Linked DNA regions of Homo sapiens: region 1 is linked to region 2. The links are contacts of gene promoters, found by promoter capture Hi-C in blood cells and fetal thymus (Javierre and others, 2016). All regions are on one chromosome and are shown on one strand. The core of a region is centred on a gene start or on the middle of the fragment in contact, and the rest is flanking DNA. Distances in the headings are between cores, read along the strand shown.

What was found. The method cuts DNA at HindIII sites, captures the fragments that hold promoters and counts their contacts. A CHiCAGO score of 5 or more calls a contact.
Region 1: a contact is called between a fragment that was not itself captured here and the fragment with the promoter of TCP1 in region 2, in 7 of 17 cell types (megakaryocytes, total B cells, M0 macrophages and 4 more). The highest score is 12.4, in megakaryocytes.

What each region holds. Positions count from the first base shown.
Region 1 is chr6:159,169,762-159,173,431 of GRCh38, forward strand. The region is part of intron 1 of FNDC1 (fibronectin type III domain containing 1); the gene reads left to right. FNDC1-AS1 (FNDC1 antisense RNA 1) reads right to left here and starts at 246. Exons shown (of 4, transcript NR_121668.1): 1 at 51-246. RefSeq lists an enhancer at 494-993. The HindIII fragment of the contact is 1,395 bases long and covers 698-2,092 here.
Region 2 is chr6:159,788,004-159,791,779 of GRCh38, forward strand. TCP1 (t-complex 1) reads right to left here and starts at 1,599. Exons shown (of 12, transcript NM_030752.3): 1 at 1,402-1,599; 2 at 55-140. The coding sequence starts at 1,465. It overlaps MRPL18 (mitochondrial ribosomal protein L18), which reads left to right and starts at 2,464. Exons shown (of 4, transcript NM_014161.5): 1 at 2,464-2,636; 2 at 2,937-3,123. The coding sequence starts at 2,585. RefSeq lists enhancers at 797-1,461, 1,462-2,125, 2,382-2,561, 2,592-2,651. The HindIII fragment of the contact is 4,019 bases long and covers 1-3,580 here.

The sequences.
Region 1 (3,670 bases), core at 145-2,644, 620 kb before region 2:
CTCGGGCCCCGTCGTCCCGCTCAGTGCTGGCTACGGGTCGTGTCACTAGCCTGTGCGTCCTCGTCACTCGCGGGTCGGGGCACTTGGCGCCCTGTGTGGGTGGCGGGAGCGGGGACGCCTCGGTGCCCGGGGACCGCAGCGCGCTGGCGTTTAACTTTGCCGTCGCCCGCCTTGGAGTCGGGAGGCTCCAGCCGTCTAAGTGTCCCGGGAGATTCAGGCACAGCGGGGAAAAAAGGAAAAGAAAGGCGACTTTCAGCGTGCGGACTGGGGTAATGCCTTTCTTTGCCCAGAATTTCTCGGGAGCGTAGGTGGTCATCCTACTTTCTCCGCGTTCACCTCTCGCGAGGCAGGATGACGGGCGCACTCGGGAGACCGGAGGGAGGCAGAGCAGGGCTGTTCTAGAAGGTCGTGGGGGAAAGGCTGCGAGCTGCCGCAGGGCGTCGGGTGCCTCTGCGCTCCAGAGGAGAAGCGCTCCAGTGCCAGCTCGGCTCCAGGCGGCAGGAGGCCCGCGCGCCCGGGGGGAACGTTCAAGCTGGGAGAAAATGTTTGTCTTGAGAGGAGGGAGAGGGAAATGAGAAAGCTGATTCCAGAGAAACTCGCCCTTCCCCAATGGCTGAGGCTGCAGCCAGGATGGATGCTTCCTTTGAGAGCAATGCTTTTCAGAAAATGCTAGCGCGCTCCTGTCAGATTTCTTGCAAGCTTCCTGCAGAGAGAGACAAGTTTGTGGCGAGGTTTTCATTCCTAAGCCTTTGGCGGCCCTTGTTACCACCTCCTTTGCAGGCATTTTTACACTTGAAACTGGCTTTTAGGTTATTGGTTTGTAGAAATCCAAGAAGCAGACAATGATCGTCAGATACTATTCCAACGAGGGTACCAGTTTTATGATGCTATTTAGTGTATATATTGTTCTCTTACTTCAGGGGTAAAGGAAGAAAAGTTGGGGATCACATTACTTTGTGACTTTTTGGTAGATACATCATCCCAATGCTTGGCTCAGGTTTATGCGAGGTATTCTGATGCCAATGCCACTTTCTCATAAAAGGCAGTGCCTGCCGTAGGGTCTTTTTCTTCCCATTAGTGAACTCTAGGAAAGTATTCACTGAATACTTTGCACAGTACTTGAGAGGAATAAAACTAAATAAAGTCTTCCAACTTCCCCACCTACAACTCCTGGCTTTTGTTTTTCTAAGTGAAAATTTTCAGAGTGCTGGAAGAGTTTTTGTTTCTGAAAATGATCTGAAACTGGAACCAGTGCTGCCCTGGCTTTGTGGCGATTCCAGCCTTCTGCTTTTCCGATTCCTCTGCCACCTGCCCGTGGGTTGCATGTGAGTGGGTCCGAGCGGGGTTGTTTGTGAGAGCTCCTGGAATCCCACCGCGATCTGCACTCTTGCTTTTTCGCCTTCTGCTCTGTGAATCACTGTGCTGAGGAATGCTGGGGCTGGACAGCTTCCCAGCCCTTCTCTCTACTGTGTTGACGTGGGATCTACAGTCAAATGATGACCAGACTAGAGGTGGACAAAGGAGGACAGGCACATTTCAGAATGAAATCTACTAAATTTAAATTAAGTAATAGAAGGATAGAAACAGACATAGCAACCTGTAGATAGCTCCCCATGCTGTGGATGAAATTATGGGGTACATAACTTCTTTCATGGGCTCCCTTTGACAGCAACGTCATGGATAGACTGCTCCCTCTCTCTGGTTGAACTAATGCATGGACCAAGCGAGCTGCTTGTGTCAAGCTCTCCCCTTCACCACCCTTTTGGGGCCAGAATCTCTGTAAGGAAATTACCCACGGCCACATAATAGTGGCTCCGAGGGACTTTGCTTAAAGCAGGACACACTGAAGATCTGGATAAGCCCTTCAGTGTAGGGTCAATTAAACATAAAACAAAATAAGCAAGCAGTGTCCCCTCCTCCACTCATATTCATCCCTACAATAGGATACTATGCAAACATTAAAATTATGATGGCCTTGCCAGTCTGGTATGATACATTTTTCTAAACACATGTGGATGTACTCACACATGCACATATTTGCAGTGGGTATCTTAGGATGGTTAGGGATGATTTTTATTTTCTTCTTTAAAGAAGCTTTTAGGGAATTTTCCATGTCAAAACTATTTTCAAAGTAATACTAAGATTACTAAGATGCTATTTTCCTTTTTCACAGTTGACATTTGCACTGAGGGTGCAAAAGCTTGATGGGTAAACTGCGGGTGTCTTACTGAGAATCAAGGCAGGGACATCACCATGCACTAGTAGTCTTTGAATTTTGGGGGGACTTTGCAGTTAAAAAAAATTTGCCAGTTTCATTAAGAATGTTCTTGATGCCACAGTAAAATTATTAATTTTACCAAATCTTTGTATCTTTGAGTGTATGTCTTTTTAATAGTGTAAATAAATGGGAAGGACACATAAGTTACTACTGCTGATGACCAAGTTCAGTGGCAACCCCAGGGGGAAGCACTGGTGTGATTGTTTGTGTTATGCATTAAGCTAGCTGGTTTTTTAAAATGGAATGTGGTATTTACCACAAAGAATGACAACAGACAAACTAGAGCTATTCTGACTTGGGTATTTGGCCGATGTTTTCTCAAAAATGAACAAAGGGAACTTGCTACTTCTAGTAAAATAACTGCTATTATTGCTTGCCAATGATAACATTTCAGCTTTCAAGTGAAAATCAGAATTTTGCCAAGTTGTTTCCACCACTGTAAGCTTGAAAGTTTCCCAATATTTAAATTTTTTTCTAGTGAGATCAATGGTGATATAAATGAATGTGATTTGTAAATGTCATCTCATAAAATGTGTCAACATTTGGATGATCTGCATAACCAAATAAACCAATAGATCCAAATGACCAGTGTATAGCCTTACAACAATCTTGCATGGGTAAAAGGTCTGTTCAAAGTGCATGATAGCCCAATGGATTTTTAATGTAACAAAATATGAAAAATTCTTCATATGATTTCAGATTCTAAGAATTGGCTACTTGATGAATTTTGGTGTAATATCAAAGATTTTTCAAAATTATCCAAAAAGGCTATTGAAATAGTTGTCCAGCTACACATCTGTGTGAGGCTGGGTTTTCTCCAAGCAAAACGACATATTGCAATAGATTGAATGCATAAGCAGATCGGAGATATTCTATTAAAAAGATTTGCCAAAATGTAGAAACAAAGCTGCTCTTCTCACTCATTTCTCTTTGTTTTGGGAAACAGTTACTTTTCATATAAATATATTTGTATGTCAACATGTAATGGTTTATTATTGTTTTTTAAAATAAATAAGTACATATTTTCGTTTTAATTCCCAGTAAAGTCAATAAGGATAGATAAAACTCACAGAAACATAACCTCCTTGGCATCCTCGTAAATTTAAGAATAGAAGATAATTCAGACACCAAAATGTTTGAGACACACTGGTATATACGGAGGGAAGTAGGTTAAAAATCAGGATGCCTGGGTGTGAGTGGCAGTGCTGTCCTGCACCTCTGGGGGCCTTGGGCTAGTCTCCGCGCTTCAGAATAGGTCAATTGAAGGAGGCTCCTTCCATCTCTGGAAGCCTTTAGAAGCTCGCCTGTGGCTCAACCTGCATGTGGCTTTATGGGGTTTCCCTGTTACTTCAGTCCTCTTTGAGAGAACGTGGTGAGACCCTCTCTCCTTTT
Region 2 (3,776 bases), core at 349-2,848:
CACTGAAGATAGTTTTACTTTAAGGAAACTAACACAACAGTTATGTGTACTTACACCAATATCATCCACCAACATTTTATCCAAGCCAACTGGACCAAGAGAACTTTTTACAATATTGGCAATCGAAGCTGCAGCCATAACTGTAGACAATCAATTAAAAATAAAAAAGAAATGAGGATAAGCCACAACTCTGAAAGACAGTAATTTCAGCCTAAAGGTAAATGACATCCAACAGCCCCCGTATTTCCCAAATCTACAAATCTGTGTTAATTATTTAAAAACCACCTACTAAGAGTGTAAATGGGGCCAGACACTGTGGCTCACAGGTGTAATCCCAACACTGCGAGGCCGAGGCAGGAGGATCGCTTGATGCCAGGAGTTTGAGACCCCTTTGGGCAACATAGCGAAACCCATTTCTACAAAAAATAAAAACAAAGCCGGATGCGGCGGCGCGGACCTGTGCTTGGAGAATGCAGTGAGCTATGATGGCACTCTCGTCTGGGCGACAGGTGGGACCCTGTCCCTAAACAAAGCGAGCCTATTTGGCACAGCTTTGATGCGGGGTGGAATCTGATGGCGGGGAAAAAAAAAAAAAGTAATAACCACCAATTTCATGCTCTGCCACTTCGTACAGCTATACCAGCCTTTTCCTTCAGATTCTGCAAGTTTTTTGCTCATTAAAACTCTCTTTATCTGTGAGGAGAGAAATCGGTAGTCAACGGGGAAGGTGGTGACTTTCAGATTTGTTTACGAAAAAAATTAGGAATCTATCAAGAAACAGTAAGCTCTGTAGGTATCCAAAGGCCTGACAGCAAACGCTCTGCTAAGTTAGCGCTGCCGTCTCCTGGGGTCAATGCACTCGAGTGGCGTTTCCTGGGCTAACTCTACTGTAAGAAGCTGTCAACCCGGATACGGCTGGACGCCGGACGCCCGACCTCGACTGCAGCTGCGGGCGGACAGGGCACCGGGCTCATCCGAGGGCGCGCGGATGGACCTACTCTTTTTCTGGTAAATGGTCCTAAAATAAAACCTGGCGTTTAACATGGACACTCAGGGGGTCGCCCTGAAACAAAAGGGGGTGCGAGGCGTGGCCCGCACGTGCGAGCCCGGGAGGCCCGCTTTCCCGCGGAGGGCGCGTTTCCAACGCCGCCCCGGACACCACATCCACGCGTTGCCGGTCTCAAAACCCTGCCGCGCGCGGCGGGGCTCCTCCTCGCTGTGGGAAAAGTGGGGCCACAGCGCCCTGCCCCAGAGAACGGCGGGTGGGCTGGGTCCGGCTGCGGGGCCCCGAGGCCCTTTCTGCGGAGGTAAAGGAGAGAAACGAGGGCAGCCGGGGTCCGGTCGCGGTGGGACTCGGCCCTCCCCGGCCGCAAACCCGACCCAGGCCCGGCCCGCCCTTACCGTTTTGGGAGCGGATCGTTTCCCCAGTGCTGCGGTCACCGAACACGGACAAAGGCCCCTCCATCTTGACGGCAGCGATACACGTCGAATTCTGCTTACACCGCGGGCAACCAGTATCGCGGCCCCTCGGCCGACCGGCGACCACAGCAGTGGCTGCGACGGCGTGGAGCGTACCCGAGCGATGTCCCAGGAGCTACTGGGTAACACACCACCCCACCCGCTTCCCGGCTGCCCCGGCCCGGCCGCGGGGCACGGCGGGAAGGAAAAAGAGGCAGGGACAACAGGGAGAGAAACAGGACTGTGACGGAAGTGAGGCTCCGGGGAAGGGGCGGGGTCGGCATTTTTGTCCAATTAGATAGCCGATGGGAAGGGCGCGAAAGCGGAGAACGGAAGTCGGATGTTGGACCGCTGGGAAGAGGTTGAACCTTCGCCTCAAACGATGTTGCGCAGACGCAGTGGGCCATTCTAGTGCCTTCTAGAAAAGGTTGTAAGAAGGGTGGAGCTTGGAGCTGGGGTGTAACTGGAGGGGCGGGCCCTTCTCCAAGTTAGAGTTGGGGTTCTGAGCGAGTCGTGCGTTTTAGGTTTAGTGTCTTTTCCTTGTCCCTGCTCGGGGAGCGTGAGGCAGATCGGCCGGCTTTGCTCCAGGCCTCAGGAGTGTAAGTTTAAGGGCGCGAACCTGGGTGGGACGGGGCAGTTTTTCCAGCGGGCCATACGGGAAAATTTTTGGTTCGAGGAAGACAACCACCCTTTTTAAGGAGAAAACTGCATCTTGCCCTGCCTTATTCCTACGCGGTGCCCAGGTGGGGTGTGTGTGGACCAGTCGATGACCGCCCAAGCTCTCCGAGTAGAAAACCCAAACATGGTTTTGTGGGGTGTGTGCCTTTGACCCCGGACTTAAGCAACAAGCGTGGTCTTGGGCGTAGCTACGAGGTGGTTGGTGGGCTCCAGGGCCTGCGTGCCCCTCGACGTGAGCGATGATTGGCGATGAAGGATAACAGATCGCCTTCTCGGCCACTCAGTGGCAGGGGACTTGCTACTTCCGGGTCGGTGGCGTCTGGCGTGGAGAGTTTGGGGATCTACAGCAGCCAAAGGCTTGTCCCTGACTTTATATGGCTGCTCCTGGCGAGCGACTGAGTCGTCCGTGAGGAAAAAGAGGCGAGGCTTTTCCGAGATCGTCTCAGCGATGGCGCTTCGGTCGCGGTTTTGGGGGTTGTTCTCGGTTTGCAGGAACCCTGGTAATTAGTCTTGCCCCCCTTCTCCCAGCTCACTCGCCTGGGCTTGCACAGTACATTGGAACGTGCGGGTTCTATTTTGTATTCGACGTGCCGGATCGAAATAGAGCTCGCGGCACTGCGAAGACCACAGTAGGAAGTTAAGGACGGGGTCAGTGCTGACTCCACCCTGTGGGCATACGTATTTTTCGTCCCCTCGGGCCTAAAGATTGGGGGTGTAAAAGCGGATAGACGTTAGAGCGGGTTCGTGCGCTGTCCATATCCGTCATTTTTAAGCCCTGTGCGGTTTTTCCCGTTGCCCAGGGTGCAGGTTCGCAGCCCTGTCAACCAGCTCCGAGCCGGCAGCGAAACCTGAAGTGGACCCTGTGGAAAATGAAGCTGTCGCCCCAGAATTCACCAACCGGAACCCCCGGAACCTGGAGCTTTTATCTGTAGCCAGGAAAGAGCGGGGCTGGCGGACGGTGTTTCCCTCCCGTGAGTTCTGGCACAGGTAATTAAATCTGCTTGTGATTGACAAGGGCAGTGCACCCTACAGACTATTTTCATTCATTCAACTCCAGGCACTCTCCCAGGTAGCTGCCATGCGGCGGGTAGAGGCAGGGTTCGCGGAGGGGCTGGAACAAACAACAAATAGGTGTGATGGGGGCTATTTAAAGAGGATGTTACAGTAGCGGACAGGATACCTGCCTGTCTGAGGTGACATTTAAGAAGGTGAGATCTGAAAGAGGAAGAAGCCTAGTCATCTGCCAGAAAGAGCAGTCCTAGCAAAGGAAACTGCTGGGGTGAGGAACTGAAGGGCTTGTGGATCTGAAGCTCAATGGGCAGAGGATGAATGGCCCAAGATGAACATGGAGGGGTAAGGAGGCGACAGATGATTAGCTTTGTAAGTCAAGATGAGCACTTTAGACTTTCTTTTCATTATAGTGGGAAACTACGAGAGGATTTAAAGCTTGAGCCCGAATTGGTTTTTCAAGATCATTCTGGCTGGGCGCATTGTCTCATGCCTGTAATCCCAGCACTTTAGGGAGCCAGCCGAAGAAGCCGGATCATCTGAGGTCAGGAGTTTGAGACCAACCTGGCCAACATGGTGAAACCCCGTCTCTACTAAAAATATAAAAATTAGAGGGGCGTGGTGGTGCACGC